6 separate regions of the Homo sapiens genome follow, and regions 1, 3, 4, 5 and 6 are each linked to region 2. The links are contacts of gene promoters, found by promoter capture Hi-C in blood cells and fetal thymus (Javierre and others, 2016). All regions are on one chromosome and are shown on one strand. The core of a region is centred on a gene start or on the middle of the fragment in contact, and the rest is flanking DNA. Distances in the headings are between cores, read along the strand shown.

Region 1 (3,345 bases), core at 291-2,790, 610 kb before region 2:
CCCCAAGTTCATATGTTGAAATCTAATCCCCAGTGTGACAGTATTTGCAGATGGGGCCTTTGAGAGCTAATTAGATCATGAGGGTGGAACCCTGAGGAGTGGAATTAGTTCCCTTATAAGAAAGCTAGCTCACCCTCTTTTCTCCACATGATTTTACAAGGAGAAGCAACCTTGGAAGAGGGCCCTCACTAGCCACCAAATCAGCTGGCACCCTGATCTCAGACTTCCAGTCTGCAAAACTCCGAGAAATAAAAAGTTGTTGTTCAAGCCACTCAGTCTATCATATTTTGTTATGGCACTCCAAGCTGACAAAGACAACTGTGTAGTCCTTCTCTACTTCTATCCTCTTATAAATAAGGGCTTATCTCCTTTCAGCAAAAAATTCTATTGCACAAAGCATTCTTTAAGATGCAGAATTGTTCATAACCCCAGTGAATTTCGTTGAAATATGAGGAGTTAGACACTATTTCCAATTTATTGTGCATAGTCCACTCTGGTTTTTTATATGCTTGGAAGACTAAGCTAATTATCTTTTGGTTGCTGGCAACTTCTCAATAAGATATCTGTCAAGTGTAATACTATCACAAGGCATTTGGCAACATAAGGAAGAGCAAATTATGTAAGAAGGATAAATATTTTCCTCCCTGGGATAAGGAAAGAGTGTGAGGAGAAGAAAATCACATTAGTAGTTTAAATGTTCTTTTCTCATGAGAACATTTAAGAACAATAATGTTGGTTTATACCAGTTAACACTGAGTTCCCAGAGATGATGCAATTCTGTTTCAATGTAGCCTTTCCTCTGACAGCTCAAAGCTTGGCTTAGTCCCAGAACCATTTTCTAGCCTGATGTGACTCCTCAGTTCAGCTCTGAAGAGAAGAGGCTTTCAAAGGTTTTTCATCTTGCATTATGTTTTTAGAAGTTTCGTGTCAAGGTGTCTAGAGGCCCTCATATACCAGATTCTTTAAATAATATTCTTTTGAGTTAATTGCCTTGGAAAATACAGCCAGCCATTAGAATAGGAATATGATATCTTAGTCTATAACAAATGCACCCCATAAATATATACACCTACTGTGTACCCACACAGTCATAGATGGCTGTTATTATTTTGAGGTGTGTATCTGTTCCCCCAAAACTCATATGTTGAAACCCTATCCACAATGTTATGGTATTAGGAGGTAGGGCCTTTGGGAGGTAATTTAAATTAGAAGAGGTCTATGGGGGCTGGGCGCTGTGGCTCACACCTGTAATCCCAGCACTTTGGGAGGCCGAGCGGGTGGATCACAAGGTCAGGAGATCGAGACCATCCTGGCTAACACTGTGAAACCCCGTCTCTACTAAAAATACAAAAAATTAGCCGGGCGTGGTGGCAGGCGCCTGTAGTCCCAGCTACTAGAGAGGCTGAGGCAGGAGAATGGCATGAACCCGGGAGGCAGAGCTTGCAGTGAGCTGAGATCGTGCCACTGCACTCCAGCCTGGGCAACATAGCGAGACTCTGTCTCAAAAAAAAAAGAGGTCTATGGGACTAATGCCCTTATAGGAGTCATTAGAGAGCTTGCTGCTTACTGCTCTCTGCTCTCCACCATAAAAGGATACAGCAAGGATCAGCAGTCTGCAACCCTGAAAAAGGAGCTCACCAGAGTTCCACCATGCTGGCACCCTGGTCTCAGGCATCTAATCTCAGAACTGTGAGAAATAAATTTCTGTTGTTCATTAGCCACCCAGTCTATGGTAGTGTGTGTGTGTGTGTGTGTGTGTGTGTGTGTGTGTGTTTAACTTTAAAAATCTTGTACATGCTTTATTTGTGTTTTTTAATTTTTTAATCATCTTGAAAATGGGAGGATCGCTTACTGTAAAGTGAGTGCCTTATAACCATTGCTGCCTTATTCTAAAAGATAAATCACTATGGATTGCATACAGCTTCAAATAAGAAAAAAAATTTGTAACAGTACATTATAATTTTTATAGGACATTGTTATGGACTGATAACAGATACAGTAAGACAGCTAGCTGAAAGAGGCATAATCCTAGCATCTACTATTATTTAGATAGAATCTATCTATCTATCTATCTATCTATCTATCTATCTGTCATTTTTCTTGAAACAGGGTCTCACTCTGTCACCCATGCTGGAGTACAGTAGCACAATCATGGCTCACTGCAGCCTCGACCTCCCAGGGCTCAAGCGATCCTCCCATCTCAGACGCCTGAGTAGCTGGGAGTACAGGCACATGCCACCATGCCTGGCTAGAATCTGTATACTTTAGAAGCTTTTAGTTCTGGTACGGAGGTGGCAAATAAATGACTTGTCAGACTGTACCCATCTGACATTGCCCTGCTGAGCCCCAAAGCATCTTTGGAATCCTCCATACAGCACGAGACTACATTGGTAGGAGCCTTGACTCAGGAGTCAGGACAGAGCTGGGTTTGAGTAACTACTGTAGTTACGAGAGATATGATCTTGGACAGGGTGCTAATCTCTAAGCCTTAGTGTTAGTAAACAAGGGCAGTTGTACCCATCTCACAGGGCTCTCATAAGCTTAAATGGGAGAACACATACACCTTCCTTAGCACAGGACTCTGGTACAAGCAGCTCTATAATATTAGCTCTTCTTTCTCTTGCTATTGTTATTAATAACTAACAAGATTTGGCAAAAGATAAAATTATTAGAGAACCACTTCCTCCCCCATAGTGCTTAGATCCTGTCTGGGGAAAGTCCTAATTTATTAGGTTTCAAAGTTGCTAGCTAATCAGCCTCTATCCCTTCTGGTACAACATATTTGAGTGAGTACACGGTCACCCACCCAATTGGGCTACAGCTTTCTGACTCAAGCCCAGCTTTCCCCGTAACCTCTATCTCCTCCAGACTTTTCTGCTCAAATGGTGCTGATTCTGACATAGGGGAAGGTACTGTTACTGTTGTTTGCTGCATCCTCTCAACAGATAATGGGTTGAACATTGTCGAACACAACTTATTACCTTCTCCCGTCTTGTAGTAGAGTTTAAGGATATTGCATGCAAGAGCTGCTATTCCATTCAACTTCTCAAGCAGATCTTAAACACATTCATTTTTCCCATATACATGCTGCCTTCCCTCTAAGTTCATACACCATTCTATCTTGCCTGGAACTCTAAAATAGCCTCACAAAATGAGCTCTCTCCTCCCACTTTTGCTTCTGTTCCAACCAGTTGTCATCTTGGCCAGTTTGATTTTTTTTTTAAAGCAATCCTGACCATAATCCATGCTTAGAATTCCTCAATGCACCTCTAGACTCTTGTAATAAAATACAAACTCAAGAACACTGCCTACATGGCCCTGTATGAACTTGCCTCTCCCCATCTC
Region 2 (3,442 bases), core at 229-2,728:
TGACCTCAGGTAGGTACTCTGCTCTCTGGGTGGTGGGCAACAGGGAGGCTCCTAAGTAAGTCAGTGGCCCAGAGTTTGGAAGAGGTTGTCTGCCCCCAGCTCTGCTACTTTCTGGACATAGAACCTTGGGCAAGTCATTGCAGCTCTCGGGGTCCTCCTCACATAAGAGGACAGTGGCCAACTGTAGGACATGTCATTTTAGAGCTGTGAGGTACACAGCCCATATGGCAGTACCTGTCAACCCTGGACCTCCTTCCTCCTGAGGTTGAGTTGAGAATTCCACGAAATAAACCATAGGATTCATGCACACACCAGGCTGGATCTGCTACTCACTAGAGATTGACTCCCTTCTCCTTCTCTCACCTGAGGTACATTCCTACATTACAGCATCTGGAAAAGTATCCAGCTCTGGGGTTTGGTGACCTGGTTTCTCCAGGGTAAAACTTATGTACAGAGGTTTTTAGGTCCATGTTGTCATCCTGTAACTGGGGGAACCTTTCTGATCCTAGAGAAGTGATTGAGGTGTGACCCTTGGTGGCTTAGTGGATGCCAAGGTCAATAATTAAAACCCAGGGGTGTCATCATATCCTAACTTGGGGCACCCTTGGAGAGGCTTACCAGAAAACACCCTCGTTGTTGTTTTTATTTCTCAGTTTTCCAACAGATGGAGAAGCAGAGGTGTAGGGAATGGCCGGAACATGTGTGGGATCTGAATTTGCCCAAGGTCCTTATCTGGTGCATCAGAGAGTTAAAGGCCCAAGCCAATGTTCAGACAGTGAGGTCCAGAGGGAGGAAGCATCCTGGCCAACAGCAAGCAGCTGATGAACAGCAGAGCATTAGAGGACAGAGATGAGGAGGAAAGGAGAGAGGTGAGGGAAGGACCTGAAGCTGCTGCCAGGACTGAGAGAGGAAACCATAGGCAAGTCTTTTCTCTTGGGTCCCTGGAGCTGCCTCCTGCCATTTTTCATCCTCTATTGCCTGTGTGGACATGTGTTCACATTCACATGTGCCAGCACACATAGGGATGTAGAAAGCCCTGAAATAGCTAGATTGAGTCCTAGCTTGTAATCTGAGGTCTGGGGCAAGTGATCAGTACACTTGTCATCTGAGGTCCTTGAGCCTCAGTTTACTCATCTGTAAAATGGGGTTGCTTGATGCCTGCCTTGCCCACTTAGGTAGTAAAATGCACAAACCCAAATGGTCTACCTCCACAGCCTGCACTGATCCAGCCTCCCCCACCACCAGCAGAATAATCTGGGAGGTTGGGCACATGACCCTGCATCAAAGAATGCATGAGTGCCTCTCTGCACACAGCCCTGGGCAGTGCCCATTTCTCTTTCAGCTCAGTGAATGATGGAAACTCATGGAAGACAGCAGACAAAGCAGCCCCAGGGATAGGGGAGATTCCAGAGAGGCCCGTGACCAGGCCACAGGGATGCTGGGGCTGTAAACCAAAAGCCACTGGACTCTGTAAACCCACTGGGCACCACAGAGGCAGAAGGGGTGATGAGTGAGAGGCGAGTGGTAGTGGACTTGCCCACCAGTGCCAGCTCCAGCATGCCCCTCCAGAGGCGCAGGGCGTCCTTCAGGGGGCCACGGTCATCATCCTCCCTGGAGAGCCCCCCAGCCTCCAGGACCAATGCCATGAGTGGCCTTGTCCGAGCACCCGGGGTCTATGTAGGAACAGCACCCAGTGGGTGCATAGGTGGCTTGGGTGCCCGTGTGACCCGCCGGGCCCTCGGCATCAGCAGTGTCTTCCTTCAGGGCCTGCGGAGCTCAGGCCTGGCCACCGTGCCGGCTCCAGGTTTGGAGAGGGACCATGGTGCTGTTGAGGACCTAGGGGGCTGCCTGGTGGAATATATGGCCAAAGTGCACGCCCTTGAGCAAGTCAGTCAGGAGCTGGAAACACAACTGCGGATGCACCTGGAGAGCAAAGCCACACGCTCGGGAAACTGGGGTGCCCTACGGGCTTCCTGGGCCAGCAGCTGCCAGCAGGTAAGTGTCCAGGCTGTGCCAAGGGCTTTGCAGAGGGCTGGGAGGGGCTGCTGAAGGCAGCGGGTAGGGTTGTGAGTAGGCTGAGGCCAGAGAAACTGACCATAATCCCCTACACTTTCACACTTAAAATGGTAATGATAACAACAATGCTACCTTTTACCGAGGTTTACTAGGAGCCCACGCTAGCCCCCATACGTGCACTACCCACTGTCTTCTTTAAACTTCAAAGAAATGCTATGCAGTGGATCATTCACTGATTGCATTTTTCAGATGAGAAACTGAGGCATGTAATTTGCCCAAGACTTCAAAGCTAGTAGAGGGATGGAGATGAGATTTGAACCTGAATTTTTGTGCCTCCAAAGTTGCATTTGCCCCATTACCCTGGGGCTGCCTCAGTCACCTTTACTGTTGAGAAGGGATTTTTACAGCTATTATCCAATCAAATACCATTGGATGGATGAGGTGTTAAGAACAATGAATAAATGGAGGTGTGTTCCTGTATCCACCTACAACCACGCTGTTCAATAGAAATATGAACTACATTGGTAATTGACAAGTTTCTATTACCCACAGTAAAACACGTAAAAAGAAGCAGGTGAAGTTAATATTATAGCTTATTTAACTCTATATGTCCAGAATGTTATTTCAACATGTAATCAATACAAAATATATTAATGAGGTAATTTACATTCAAGTAGAGCTTTCTGCGTGATGGAAATATTAATATCTTATATCTGCACTGTCCAATCTGGCAGCCACTAGCCATATATGGCTATCAAGCACTTGAAATGTGGCTAATGAGACTGAGGAATTGCATTTTTATTTTATCTAATTTTCATTAATTTAAATGTAAACAGCCACAGGTAGCTAATGGCTATCTTATTGGACAGGGAAGGATGCAGAGGTTTCATCTTTCTCCCTTGCTTGGTCAGCCCTGCTTTTCCCACTCTCCAGGGTGATTTCTGCGGAGTCTGGAGCACATCCATCATGTCTGGCCTGCAGCCTGTAGTTCTAATGCTGGGACTCCAGCCAGCATTACACCTCTCAGCTGGTCTCTCTGTGGATAGCTGGCTTCACCTCTCCTCCTCCTCTTTCTCTCCAGATGCTGGCCTTGGGATCCCTCTGAGCAAAATCAGTCTCTAACCCACCAGGGACTGCCAACTCAGACCCTTGGCCCCCTGGAGTCCAGTATGCAGCCTCCCAAGAGGAGGTCACAAAATTTTATTTGTGTATAGCTGGGGGAAGCTAAGCAGTTGCACACAGGGACTCCCCATTTGCCCCTCCTGCCTCCCACTTCATCCCAGGATGCTTCTCCTGCACTGCTGTCAGTGCCCACTGACAGCACAGAGTGCATGATGAACAGCACCATCCTCTCAGGCTCTCCCCCTGGTGCTGCTGTTCTGCTTGCATCCATCTGGGCTGCAAGGGAGAGCCATCTTAGAACAGT
Region 3 (3,672 bases), core at 1,042-3,541, 530 kb before region 2:
AAAGGTGGCTTATTATTTTCTCAGTCAGTATTTGACTGGATCAGGAAATGTCTAATCTTAGAAAGAAATCCTGATGTACTATATTTTAAGGTTGCCTGGTTCTGGAGTCTATAATAACAGAGTCCTGACCTATGGGCCTGATGAACTGCCTCATGAATACCCCACCAGGGATAAATGGCACATACATATATACAAGAAGAATGGGAACTAATTCTCTCAGAAAGAACTTTTTTTTATAAGCCTAAACTAGAGAAAACTGCCCATATAACTCAAGTAATCTCTCTTGGAAACTAGTAAACTAACATAATATTTTGAGAACGCCTAAAATTGCAATAGTTGACCCATAAGTCTTTAGGGGTTTAGGGACCGCTTTGGTCCCCAGGAGTGTCCACAAAGATCTCCTCACAATATGCAGTCTACCTAGACAATGCTTCACCACTGAGGCCCTAGATCTCTACTCCATGTTTCTCCTATTAAAGTATATCTTCTTTGTGTTCCATTCGCTCTCAGCTGGTCTACTAGAACACTTTCCGATGTGTGAACCTCTTCTAAGAATGAACTGTTGACTTTTGAATGTATGAGATTAGACCATACCAGTAGACACAATGCAACTAGTTAGCTCAATTATTGCAGAGTCTCATGATCAGCCTTGATTGAGTGTTTGATAAATCTTAATGATAAGCAGTAGTGTCATGCAAAGACCAACTGAATTCTCAGACTTTTTTGACATCCAGCAAGAAACAAGATATTTGGTAAAATTGTGTAGTTGGAGGAATGTCATGACTCTGATCTTGGCAAGTGTCTGTGACTTATCATTTCTCTTAGGAACTAAGCAGGGATATTTAAAAATATATCACCTATTGTTAATTTCTGACTCTAACACATTTTCACTGTAGAAAATTGGGACATACAAGAAGGAATAAAGAAGAAAATAAAAACTAGCCATATTTCTACTACCCAGATATAATCACTGTTAACCTTTTGTTTCATTTCAGCTAAATAAAGTATAAAAATATTTTACAAAACATTTAGATAATTGTGTATACATATGTGTATATGTTTTTATATATGTATACATACACACATACATATTATTGGGTGTGTGTGTGCGTGCATGCGTGTGTGTGTGCACATATGTATAGTTTTGTTTCTAAGCAGGAAATTTTCAAAGGACTAGTTAAACTTTTGTCCTACTTCTTCTGTCTGAAAGTAGATTACGTCAACAAATGAGATTAAACTCTTCCTGATTTGTCTTGCCTTCCAGTGGGAGAATGTTATTTTTAAACCAGAAAGCAACTGGGATACTTAAATAATGATAACAACAACAAACAAGAAGGTCAATCTTCAGACCTTCATATAAGCTCCACCGTATCTCTGGATGCATACAAATTACTCAAGGGCTGTGGTCATGTTTAAAAAACGATTTAAGGTTTATGACCAGCCTGGGCAAAATAGTAAAACTCTGTCTCTACAGAAAATTTTTTAAAACATTAGCCAGGCATGGTGGTGCATGCCTGTAGTCCTAGCTACTAGGGAGGCTGAGGCAGGAGGATTGCTTGAGCCCATGAGTGCCTGGAGACAGAGCAAGACCCCATCTCTAAAAAAATAATAACAACAATTTAAGCAACAATTTCTTCTCTGGGAGCATTTAAAAATTGGTTGGGAAGAATGATTCACACATTTAAAAATTGGTTGAGAAGAATGATTCACACATATTGAGCAATTTGAGAGTAGTAGAAGATGGTTTATGTTTAGGTGGTGAAGAGATGTGAGGTTCAATGACCACAAGTATTTCAAGGGTTCCTGGAGAAAGTGGAGTTTGAGATAAGCTTTGGGTTATAGATACAAAAGAAAAAGGGAGGGACTTTTTCCACTTCTTTAACTGCAGCATGGACAAATGCTTGGGAGCAGGAATAAGCTTGACATTGGAAAAGGCGTGGCTCTAAGCATATGAGCTAGAGTCAGGCAGACATAGGTCTGAGTCTGTCTCTGCTACTTGTTAGACTGATGGCCTTGGCACTTCTCTCTATCCTTTCCTAGGCCTCCGATTCTTTATCTCAAAGTAGGGGAAAGTAGCATCTGCCTCAATGGACTATTTTGAATATTGAGTGGGAAATGTGTATAAAGTGCTTAGCACAGTACTTTATGCATGTGATTGTTAATACTGAATGTCAACTTGACTGGATTGAAGGATACAAAGTATTGATTCCAGGTGTGTCTGTGAGGGTGTTGCCAAAGGAGATTAACTGTTTGAGTCAGTGGGCTGGGAAAAGGTGCCTACTCTTACTCTGGGTGGGCACAATCTAATCAGCTGCTAGCATGGCTAGAATATAAGCAAGCAGAAAAATGGGAAAAGTGAGACTGGCCTAGCCTCCCAGCCTACATGGGCTAGTAATGGAAGGCCCGTGTGTATATATATATATATATATATATTCCATTAGTTCTGTCCCTCTAGAGAACCCTAATACAATACTCTCTCTATATATATGTACATTCCATTAGTTTTGTCCCTCTAGAGAACCCTAACTAATACAATGTATAAGAAGCATTAAAAAACTACTGACCAATAATGGTGATAAATAATCATCAAAAATGGCAACTGGTTCATGAGGTGACCTAGAAATGTGGCAATCTATGAGACGCTAGTAGCTTGGTATTCCAGGAAAAGCTTCTAGAATTCAAAAACAGGAAGTAATAAAGATTTCAGACAGAAGGCCACGCCTCATATATATCCAGTGTTTCAATCATGTTACACATAGGTCTCAAATCTGTTCACCTGCTCAGGAAGGCTCTGAGGTGTTCTGCTGATGGGAAACCATCTGGAGTCTTTCAGGGGAAGGCTGCCCGCACCCATTTTCTGTTGGTCTAGTGCAAGGATTGACAGATTTTGTTCTTTTTTTCTGTGAAGGACCAGACAGTAAATATTTTAGGTTTTGTGGGCCATACAGTCTGTGTTACAGCTCCTCAATCCTGACATTGTAGTGTGAAAGCAATAGACAATATATAAGTGCCTGGGTGTGGTTATGTTCCAGTAAAACTTTATTTATAAAACCAGGTGGCAGATTTGCCCTTATGGGCTATACTTTGCCCACTCCTGGTCTAGAGTTTAACTCTCAGAAGACAATCTGAATTTTTAGTAGGTATGAATTTGTTCCGCAACACCTAGATTCAAAATACATCATAATATTTTCTTTTTATTTTTTAAAATTAAAATTTCAAATTTAAAAATTTAAATTATAAAACAATTCAAACATCTTTACATTTTTCTAAATAAAAATTATTCTTGCTTGGGCCATACTCCCCATGGATGGTTACAAATTCAACTTAGTAACGTTTTCAGGACAAACCCCTACTCTCCCTGGGGTCATATTGATAACCTATAGCATTTACATGACTGTAGGGGAGGAATGAGGACTTGACTCTCTTCTTGGTGGTCACCTTTGTTACTGTTACCTGAAATCCATGACTGCTTCTTCCACGATGCTCTAACATAGGACTCTTCTTGCAGACTGAAGCTCTGTCATGTCTCTTTTCGTGTTAGGCACTTAGTGCCCCGGACCCAAGGACATCCCTCAACCATCCTCCCTCTGAGGTATGGGTTTATCTGCCATTTGTAGGAATCCCCTAAGCTACCCTTTCTGTTATCAGAGAACCTCCCTCTGGTGGTTGTGC
Region 4 (3,422 bases), core at 127-2,626, 580 kb before region 2:
CTGTTCATCTGCAGACATCTTTGTTCTAGGTGGCTCTGCCTCCTTTCCCAAGGCATTAAGCCTCATGGCTTAGTTTTAATAGTGAATATGATTAATGAGGACAATTTTTTTAAAACTTGAGGTTAACTTTTTAAGATAATTACATTAGCATTTATAAAGTACTTTCTCCATGGAAATTCTGCCTACTAGCCTGACATTATTGGCATTTGCTGCCCACTTGGCAGTGAATCTTGTGGCTTCCAGTGTGTGGTCAGCCTGTTGAGGAATGTGGACTCACCTGGGGTAGACGCTCATGGTTCAAGTTGGTGAGTCAACTAGGAGAGCTTTTGGATCACTATATATAAAATATTTGTCTGCAGTGAAATAAGCCAAGAGTTTAGCCTCAAATTCCCATGGGAATCCTATGGGAAATATAATCCTTTCTCTTAGGTCTGCCAGTTGCCTTGTTTTCCTGAACACCATAGCCCAGTTTCCTCTAGGGGCTCATTCACAGAGAGTCATGGCTTATGCCAAGACTAGCAAGGATCAAATGAATAAATGCAAAGATGTACAATTTTTTAAACTTTCTTTTGGTCACATCTTTGTTCTTTATATTGAGGCTTTGAGTGGATTTTGTCTTAAGACAAATTCTCCTTTTTGTATAGGGTACATTGTCTAATTTTGTACCTCTCTTATGGGGTATGCACATAAATATGAGGTCCATGGATCATTTTAAGCCAAACCCATGGGAGTCTTGCTGCTTTTAAGCCTTGAGGATGGTTTGACCTGGAGACTATTAGTTGCTTTTCATGCAAAATAATAATTACTCGAGCTTTTAAATTCTGTTTTTAGTTTGCTGCTGAATATTTTTTAGCCATGTGTGATCTTGTATTTGTTGAACCCAAGATACTCTTTCAAGTCCCCACCAAACAATCAAATTATATTTCAGAAATATGCCATCTGTCTTTGTCACTCTCAGATGCTGAAAGCTTGTGCTAGATGAGAGCTGCTACATTTTTCTCTGGTGGCAGGGATGATACAGAGAAAACTATTCTTCCCTCTTTAGTTAACACAGTGATGATGGGTGCATGTTTGCGAGCAGAGGTATGGCATTTTTGACATAAGATAAATTCCTAACAGCTGTCTTGAAATGAATCTCTTGATTCATTTCAACCTTATTTGTTTATATTGAACAACTTTGTCTATTTCTCAGGTTTACTTCTTAACCAAGCTACTTTTATGACTACTAGTTCTTGCAGAACTGAATCTGCTTCATGCAGGTACAATTAGACTGAGACTTGTTATGCACTCATGCCATGGCCATATACCTCTAGTTTCACGCCTTATGGCTTGCTGGTGCCACAGACATGGAATTCTGCTCCATAATTACAGATATTCAAATTTCTAAAACTTTAGGGGAGTAAATCCTTGAGTGGGAGAAAGGAGGAGACAGATAAATCCTTCCCTCTTTTGTCCCCAGGATGGACGCTTCTGAGATGCAGGTCACCAGACTCTGGCACATCCTGGTAGACCAAGCACTGGCTGCTCATAGTAGTGGCCAACTCAGTAATACATCCCTGTATCAGCTTTGCCTTCTTCCTATTTTGCTTTCCCTGTCCTGTACACTTGCTTCCTGGGAAGCATATTCCAAAATAAACTATCTGGAAGGAAGTTTTTGCCTCAGGCTCTGCTTTGGGGGAATCCAGGCTAAGATAGAATTCTTCCTCATAAAATAGGAGCTAGCATTTTCTCTTGTTTCATATCATTTCTTACTAAAGTGTACCAATAGAGAGTCAAACATAAAGAGAAGCTTTTCTCAGTTTGGTGAAGGTGTGCGTGTGTATGTATATATCTGAGCATATAACTGCATTACAAAGCTAGTTCTAGTAATTATTTAGTTATCCACATAAAAAGACAGACAGATTACCTAAAAATAATGTATTTTTGATATTGAGATACACCCACTCCCATATTTACTGACAGTCAAAACTCTTCTCTTCTATTCCTAGCTCCAAGTTTCTTCCAACTTGATACTTCTTTTATAACCTAGAATCCTGTGGTATGATGGTGGGGAAGAGATCTTGGGAAGTCCACAAAGCAAATAAACTAGTTTAAGAGTTAAATTGTAATTATCTGCTGCTTGACATAATTCACATTTTATTCCCATCAAATAATTAAGGATTGATTGAATTGATAATGATGATATAATATGATTTCTTTTTACTTTAAAAACCTGTTCAGTTTGAAACATTGTCAAAATGGCTATCAGGAGAATTTAGGGGGTTAAAAGAGAAGGGGGTTAGAAAAACACCTTCTTAAGTGAAGCTGGCCCCCCTCCAAATTCTAGTGTCTCATGATCATGGAGAGGAATTCTGATGACCATTTCCATAATCAATGTCTTGAGGAGGAATTTATTTTTTAGCCCGGGAAGATAGGATCCTATCAGAATCTCAAAGGTATGAGAATGTTACAAGAGAGCTTTGGAAAAGGGGTGTCCCTAAAATTTGGCCACCCATCAGGGATGCAGAAATTGGGTTTCAACTCATTTGATAGCATGCTTCAAATTATTTTTATCCTATTATTGCTCCTTTCTTTGTAACCAGTAGATACCATGTGGATTCTGGCTTCTTTATCCTTTTGCAAGCACAGGCAAAAATTAGAGAAAACTCGGAATTACCCCTTTTCTTGTGGTTGCGTTATATGAGTAATTATCCATCATGAAATCCCTTCAACCTTCTGTTCAGTTTTGATCACTTTATTTCCTTTGGTGAATCATAAGAACCATGATTGCACATATGTTCTTTTTTAAATCTTTAATTAATACTCCAGTTGGATAAAGAATTTGAGAAATTGATTACCTTAATTTGAACTATTTTGGTTGCAAATGATAGAAAGCCAAGTAACAGTGGTTGGAGCAGAGATGCTGTGGTGTCTCAAAGATCTCAAGAGCAGAAGTGGGGCTGGGCTGCCAATGTTCAGCAGACCTCTGACTTCACCTTTTGCCTTTCTGTGTCTTTATCTTTATTTTGTACTTCATTTCTTTCTTTCTCACTCTCTCAACTGGCATACTCTGCTCACATGGGAAGGAAACATGGCTGTTAACAGAACCTATCTGAGTTTTTCATTTATAATTTCAGTCACCTGGGAAGAGATTGACCTTCCTTGTTTTCAATGGCCAAATCCCTGGTGAAGGACCCTAAGTGGTCAGCTTGGATACTATGCTTACCCTAGAACCAATCTGCTAGCCAGGACAGGTCATGGGAGGTGATTGGCCTACATATCTTCTCCTGGACCAATTAACTGAAGCCAGGGACACTTTGTGCAAGATGATTAGTCTAGAGTTTACCATCTTGATAGAGTGGGGCAGAGGATGGGAAGGGGTGATTTCCAGAAGAAAGTAGTGGAGGAGTACAGGTGGCTGTATGTAGTTTAGCAAAAATAGT
Region 5 (3,689 bases), core at 396-2,895, 560 kb before region 2:
TGGCTGCCTTTGCAATGCGATGGCACAGCTGAGTAGTTGCAACAAAGATTATGTGGCCCACAAGCCTAAAATATTTACTCTTTAATCCTTTACAGAAAAAGTTTGCTAATTATTAGCTCTCTATACCTTTCCTTCAAAATCCTAATACAATTTGTAATTATCTGTCATGTGATTATTTTATTAATGTTAATCTCTCACACTATTCTTTAAGCTCCATGAGGGTAAAACCATGTCTATTATTTTCACTATTATATTCCCAGAACCTAAAATAATGTTGGCATATAGGTATTCAATGTATGTTTGTTAATTAAATAATTAGATTATCTAAAATGGTAACTTTGGAGCAAATAGTACCTCTGGGGTAAATCTGCATTTCAGTTTAAACTTGTGAGGTATAATGGTAAAGTCCAGGTGGCATAATACACAAAGTGCTCAGCATAATGCTTACAAACTAGAATGGGCTGAATAAATGACACCTTTTATTAATTGAGATCCTCCAAATCTCCTGTTTAAACCATTGTGGTGGCTTTGCCATCAGGGAACAGCCTTATAAATGCATGAAAATATTAGGAAGAACATTCACTCTAGAGAACACATTTAGCAAGCACCTACTTTGTGCCTGGTGAATCCACTTTTCTTATTTCATGGCTTCTGAGTCTTACCAGTCTGTCTAATGTCTATAAGACCTTGCTAATCATGTATCTTCCAGAAAAGAAGATCAGTGGAGAAGTCAGCAGCCTTGCCAAGGCATGTGTCAGTTCTTCATGTATTTGCTTGTTAACCAGGACCGTGCATTGGAATTGCCTGGAGAACTATTTACAAACACTGGGGTCTGGACTTCATCCTCAAAGATTCTGGTCTGATTGGTCTAGGGTAGTATTTTTAAGCTTCTCGGGTTATTCTAACATGCAGCCAGGTGTGAGATTGTCAGTTTTATCAGTTAGGAGGTACGTGGCGGGGCCCAGTGGCTCACATGTGTAATCCTATCACTTTGGGAGGCCAAGACAGGGCACAGTGGTTTGCATCTATAATCTCAGCACTTTGGAAGGCTGAGACAGGGGGTCACTAGAGATCGGGAGTTCAAGACCAGCCTGACCAACAGAGCAAGACCCCCATCTCTACCAAAATAATAATAATAATAATAATAATAATAATAATAATAATAATTATTATTATTATTTAGCCATGCATGGTGGCACACTCCTGTAGTCTCACGACTTGGGAGGCTGAGGCAGGAGGATCGTTTGAGTCCAGGAGTTAAATACCACAGTGAGCTGTGATTGCACCACTGTACTCCAGCCTGGGCAACAGAGTGAGATTCTGTCTTTAAAAAAACAAAAACAAAGAAACAAAAAGAGGTACTCCATGAATATGTGATCTGAGAGACTGAAGATACAGACAATGGCTAGACCACACAGATATGACAATACAACTTTGACCCACAACCTCTGTAGCAACTGGCCTAGAAGGAAACTTTCCTATTTTTGTCCCCACTTTTCCAACTTAGGACCAGCAGAGAAAGTCAAGTATGTTCCCCAAGCAAATCATAGAAGATGTCCCACTTCTAGTTAGCCCACCTCTAGTATCTCCATGCTAACAACCTCCAATCAGGACACACGTGAAGCCTTCCATTCTTTTCACAATAAAGCCTTTCTATTCCCCTGCCTGCCTTTGAAACTCTGCCCAAAACAAGTGACAGTGGCTGACTCCCTTGTTATACCAAACTGAATAAATAGCCTCTTTCTTTTCATTTGGGTGGTTTTAGTCTATTTCCACAGTGCCACTGTTCTTGTTACTGTACAATTGCACATATAAATAACATACTTCTTCAGCATCTCTTAAAACAAGCAGAATCAAATAACAGAGACCTACTGGGATTAGCCTAGGTAAAAGCCCGATCAAATATAAGGATTCGAGGGTGTCTCAGACAACCCAAGAGCAGGGTACAGTTGAGTCTCAGGAATCCAGAAAAGGAAGGTTGTAGGGAACCAGAACATTTTCTCTCTTTGTCTCATGTCTCCATTTTTCTCCATGCATCTGCTCCATTTTTTCTTGGTATAGACCACCTGTCTCTATTTTTCAGCACACATGACACAATAGTCACAGCCAGCAGCTCCCAGGTTTGCATACATTTCCTCAATTAAAGACAGGAGAGCTAGACCAACTGGAATCTCCTACTTGCAATTCCAAATCCCTAAGGAAGGATCTGCCTGGCCCATGATGGAGGGGTTCCTTTTCCTGATACCCCTCTACTATGTGGATTGCTAGGAGGAGGTCAGTTCCCACAGGAAACAGGAAAGGTGGCTGAGGAGCACACATTAGTAATAAAACTTTAATAATAAAAAAGCCATGTAATTTAAATTCTAAACTTGTACCAAACCTAGTGATTTTTGTCTCTTCTGGTGAAGCTTACCTTGTATAACTTGTAGCTGCATCTCCACTTTCAGGTATCTTGGGATCATTTTAACATTTTTAAGAAAAATTGTCCTTGAGACCATGATGCCTCATGGGACCCTTAAGTATACCTCTCTACTTTATAAGCTTAGCCCATAGCCATGTGACAGCTGCATCCATGTCCCCACCATCTCCCAGTGTCCTGTAGAAGTACACTTCACCTATTACTGATGAGGGGCACCCATGCCCAAACAACTGCTATAGTCCTTGCTATCCTTTTTTGGGGGACCTTTGATCTTCTTGCCCAGAAGACCTAGAGTTAGGACTGCTATCTTGAGCACCCTAACTTCCTATTGTATTTATCTCCACTCATCCAAAGTGATGTTGTTGTCCCTCACTCCACCAATCCACAGGAACACAGAGACAGCAAGGAGGTACTAGGGATAGAGGAAGAGAGAATTTCTTGAAGTGGAATTACCTCAGAGCCATCCATTTCTAATTAACTCAGACACTAAATTCTGGGCAACACAAGGAGGCAATTAAGCATAAGTGTATGCCATTTGCTTTGTAGGTGAATATAAATTGCATAGGCTAGAGGTTTAAGACATTGTGCTCAAGCCAAAACTAGGGCATACTGTGCTTCTCCCAACAAATCACATACATAAGTACAGAGGAGCCACAGGATTAAGTCTGGAATTTATATTTTCAAAGGAAGCTTTGAGAAAAACACTGCTTCAAACATTCCAGCCACTATCACCATGGAGCTCTGCACCAAGTCTTGATATCAAAGAATTACTGAAGACCTGACACATACGCCATTATGCAAATAACATATTCTTACTGTTTTCAACTGTGAAGTTCAATTAATGTTTTATTATGTGAAGTCAAACAGGCGCCTACTCTTAAACTTCTAGCTTTAAACAAGTAGCAATATTGTCAGTCTGTTTTGATGTCTGCTCATCTCTAAGCAGAGAGAAAAGGAACAAAGATAACTGGGAGTTTTGTGTTATGTAACTGCAGAGTTCACTGTCTCTTTGCCCTTTTCAAGGTCTTGGGTACTATCTGATCTGACATTTCTCAAGCTAGATATTTGAGAATAGCTTCTGAAAGATCATCTTTCTCTTTCATTTTCCCCCCTCCTGGAATATTTTACATGAGTTTGCAATGCACCTCACCCTTCAATGGAAAGGATTCATGAGGCCCTTAGCGCCAGAGGACATTGTGACCTAGCTAGGAGGGATTGTGTTTCCACTCCCCTGCTTACTAATGATACAGGCTGTAGCAAGACACAGATA
Region 6 (3,441 bases), core at 312-2,811, 590 kb before region 2:
AGAGAATCTAGAAAATACTTATGCTGCAGCCCAGCATTTGAGGTATGTTTCCCTTCCCATAGTTCCCATGGACTCTCCATTGGGTCAAACCTTTTGGAGGTATTTCTGATTCTATTTCATCCTGAACATTTGCCACTTGATGAGCAGTGTAGGGAAGAAACTGGAAAACAGAGAGTAAAGAAATCTATCTGAAAAGTGGTCTCAATACCCTGGGTCTTGGTTCTTCACCCCTGGGGCTGTCATCCTTACCTGTGGCATGGAGTTCTCAGCATATGCCTATTCCTCAGGCTGATAGCTAGTTTTGGGTGGGGAATGCAGTTTGAGAAGGTACTAGTCTGGAGGGAGGGGGTGTAGGAGGAGAGTTCATATTTAAAATTCCTTCTCTTGAGGAATTCAATTTCAAAAAGCCCAGAGTTCTGCTATATATTGGCAGAATACAATTAGTTGGCTTGGCTAATGTTGGGTCAGGACTGCCCTTTTAACAGAACACCGTTCTCCAAAGACAGCCTTTAGCATTCTTTGACAAAGATCTTTAAGGAAATCACTTTCATCTTGATTTTTTTTATTAGTTAACATGCAGCGAAAACTTAACCGTTGGTTTACATCTGTAGATTCTACTAAAAATTCAATCTGTTATCCACATCAGATCACATGTCTCTAAGAGAGAGGTTCTTTGCCCTGGCTGCACATTGAATCACCTGGGGAACTTAAAAAACTTCCAACGTCCTGGCCACACCTCAGAGCAATTAAATCAGACCCTCTGGAAATGGGACCCAAGCATCAGTACTTTTTCATTATTTGTTGTTAATTTTTGTAGGGATGGGCTCTTGCTATGTTGCCCAGGCTGATCTCAAACTCCTGACCTCAAGTGATCCTCCTGCCTCAGCCTCCCAAAGTGCTGGGATTACAAGCATGAGCCACCAAACCCAGCCGGCATTCTGGAGTCCAAGTTGAGAACCACTGCCTAAAAGTTGCTACCTGAAGGCTATAATTTGCCTGAATGCTACACTCTAAGCTTTGCGAGGGCAGAAACTGGTTTGTTTACTCTCACTCATCCTCAATGCCTGTGATACCTCCTGACCCATAGTTGGAGTTTAACGAATATTTATTCATTAAATGAATTAATGCTTGTTCAGAATTTCATTAAGATGTAGATAAAGAAATGCTCTGCCTTTTGCCTGGGAGTGATGTTGGAAATCCTTAATCACTTATACGGCCATGACACTTGATCAGAGTGTTAGAGGCCTCTATGTGCCCTGAAACCTTAAATTATAGGATCATGGGAGGTTTAGTGTCCTGGTGGAGGGGCATCATTGGCCAGAACTGTTGGGACACTTTGGGGAGATCAGCACAATAGCTATTTACCAACTGGAATGAAAGCATTTTAATATTTTAACAATAGGTCCAGCTGTACACAGCGGTGGGAGAGCAGGCTACCATGGTTTACGTTTTGATCCTTCTGCTGTTAACAGGGGATTTCCTAGTCTGAAAGGCTATATGTGTTATAGCTATATGTGTTCTGTTGCTGTCTTACCTCTCAGACTTCACCTTATATCACTCCCCTGACCCTCTTCTCGGCAACACTGGCCTTCTCTGTGTTTCTTCAACACGGCTAAGCTCCTTCTTGCCTTAGGGCCTTTGCTCTTGCTATTCAGTCTGCTGGATTATTTGCCCAATGGGAGGAGCTTCAAAGTCATGTTACAAAGGGCATAGATTCAAAGAAGGGATGGCAGTAGCCATTTCTGTTACTCTACCACGTGGCCCCTTCATGTAAATGCTCAGCATCTCAGATTTCTTCTTCATCCCTCTTTTCCTCTCCAAAATGCTACTTGGGTATAATAAAGAAAAAATGTCACTTGTGTGGCATGATAGTCTCAGAGACAAAAAAAGTGTCCCTTCAGTTTCTCTTGGATCGTCTCTGGTCTTAGCTAGAGAGTGCTTGGTCCCAGCTGCCACTTGCACTTGAGCTTCAGGCTCCATCCCTGGGTGTTCTGTTCATGTTTGGTGCTGATAGTTACGGCTGTTGAAACTTGGATTAGTTATTTTTGTCTTGACTGGGCCTAGATAACTAGGACTCATATCCTTCTCCTTGGCATTGCAGACACTAGAAGCTTTTGCATTTAGGTTTATAATTCAGCTAATGTTCATATTTTTCTTTCTTTTTTTTTTTTTATTATACTCTAAGTTTTAGGGTACATGTGCACATTGTGCAGGTTAGTTACATATGTATACATGTGCCATGCTGGTGCGCTGCACCCACTAATGTGTCATCTAGCATTAGGTATATCTCCCAATGCTATCCCTCCCCCCTCCCCCGACCCCACCACAGTCCCCAGAGTGTGATATTCCCCTTCCTGTGTCCATGTGATCTCATTGTTCAATTCCCACCTATGAGTGAGAATATGCGGTGTTTGGTTTTTTGTTCTTGCGATAGTTTACTGAGAATGATGGTTTCCAATTTCATCCATGTCCCTACAAAGGATATGAACTCATCATTTTTTATGGCTGCATAGTATTCCATGGTGTATATGTGCCACATTTTCTTAATCCAGTCTATCATTGTTGGACATTTGAGTTGGTTCCAAGTCTTTGCTATTGTGAATAGTGCCACAATAAACATACGTGTGCATGTGTCTTTATAGCAGCATGATTTATACTCATTTGGGTATATACCCAGTAATGGGATGGCTGGGTCAAATGGTATTTCTAGTTCTAGATCCCTGAGGAATCGCCACACTGACTTCCACAATGGTTGAACTAGTTTACAGTCCCACCAACAGTGTAAAAGTGTTCCTATTTCTCCGCAGCCTCTCCAGCACCTGTTGTTTCCTGACTTTTTAATGATTGCCATTCTAACTGGTGTGAGATGATATCTCATAGTGGTTTTGATTTGCATTTCTCTGATGGCCAGTGATGATGAGCATTTCTTCATGTGTTTTTTGGCTGCATAAATGTCTTCTTTTGAGAAGTGTCTGTTCATGTCCTTCGCCCACTTTTTGATGGGGTTGTTTGTTTTTTTCTTGTAAATTTGTTTGAGTTCATTGTAGATTCTGGATATTAGCCCTTTGTCAGATGAGTAGGTTGCGAAAATTTTCTCCCATGTTGTAGGTTGCCTGTTCACTCTGATGGTAGTTTCTTTTGCTGTGCAGAAGCTCTTTAGTTTAATTAGATCCCATTTGTCAATTTTGTCTTTTGTTGCCATTGCTTTTGGTGTTTTGGACATGAAGTCCTTGCCCACGCCTATGTCCTGAATGGTAATGCCTAGGTTTTCTTCTAGGGTTTTTATGGTTTTAGGTTTAACGTTTAAATCTTTAATCCATCTTGAATTGATTTTTGTATAAGGTGTAAGGAAGGGATCCAGTTTCAGCTTTCTACATATGGCTAGCCAGTTTTCCCAGCACCATTTATTAAATAGGGAATCCTTTCCCCATTGCTTGTTTT

The links. The method cuts DNA at HindIII sites, captures the fragments that hold promoters and counts their contacts. A CHiCAGO score of 5 or more calls a contact.
Region 1: a contact is called between a fragment that was not itself captured here and the fragment with the promoter of BFSP2 in region 2, in 4 of 17 cell types (endothelial precursors, M1 macrophages, erythroblasts and 1 more). The highest score is 7.7, in endothelial precursors.
Region 3: a contact is called between a fragment that was not itself captured here and the fragment with the promoter of BFSP2 in region 2, in 1 of 17 cell types (megakaryocytes). The highest score is 6.3, in megakaryocytes.
Region 4: a fragment that was not itself captured here is called in contact with the fragment with the promoter of BFSP2 in region 2 in 2 of 17 cell types (erythroblasts and endothelial precursors); the score reaches 5.8 in erythroblasts.
Region 5: a contact is called between a fragment that was not itself captured here and the fragment with the promoter of BFSP2 in region 2, in 1 of 17 cell types (megakaryocytes). The highest score is 8.4, in megakaryocytes.
Region 6: a fragment that was not itself captured here is called in contact with the fragment with the promoter of BFSP2 in region 2 in 2 of 17 cell types (megakaryocytes and M2 macrophages); the score reaches 5.3 in megakaryocytes.

What each region holds. Positions count from the first base shown.
Region 1 is chr3:132,787,798-132,791,142 of GRCh38, forward strand. All of the region lies in intron 3 of NPHP3-AS1 (NPHP3 antisense RNA 1), which reads left to right. All of the region lies in intron 2 of LOC105374115 (a long non-coding RNA gene), which reads right to left. Among named protein-coding and RNA genes, the nearest start is that of NPHP3-ACAD11, 67 kb to the left of the region's middle. The HindIII fragment of the contact is 1,458 bases long and covers 812-2,269 here.
Region 2 is chr3:133,398,578-133,402,019 of GRCh38, forward strand. BFSP2 (beaded filament structural protein 2) reads left to right here and starts at 1,479. Exons shown (of 7, transcript NM_003571.4): 1 at 1,479-1,995. The coding sequence starts at 1,507. The HindIII fragment of the contact is 8,153 bases long and covers 1-3,442 here.
Region 3 is chr3:132,866,373-132,870,044 of GRCh38, forward strand. All of the region lies in intron 10 of NPHP3-AS1 (NPHP3 antisense RNA 1), which reads left to right. Among named protein-coding and RNA genes, the nearest start is that of NPHP3-ACAD11, 150 kb to the left of the region's middle. The HindIII fragment of the contact is 750 bases long and covers 1,917-2,666 here.
Region 4 is chr3:132,822,052-132,825,473 of GRCh38, forward strand. The region is part of intron 8 of NPHP3-AS1 (NPHP3 antisense RNA 1); the gene reads left to right. Among named protein-coding and RNA genes, the nearest start is that of NPHP3-ACAD11, 100 kb to the left of the region's middle. The HindIII fragment of the contact is 821 bases long and covers 967-1,787 here.
Region 5 is chr3:132,838,714-132,842,402 of GRCh38, forward strand. The region is part of intron 9 of NPHP3-AS1 (NPHP3 antisense RNA 1); the gene reads left to right. Among named protein-coding and RNA genes, the nearest start is that of NPHP3-ACAD11, 120 kb to the left of the region's middle. The HindIII fragment of the contact is 1,521 bases long and covers 886-2,406 here.
Region 6 is chr3:132,804,930-132,808,370 of GRCh38, forward strand. All of the region lies in intron 5 of NPHP3-AS1 (NPHP3 antisense RNA 1), which reads left to right. Among named protein-coding and RNA genes, the nearest start is that of NPHP3-ACAD11, 84 kb to the left of the region's middle. The HindIII fragment of the contact is 1,096 bases long and covers 1,014-2,109 here.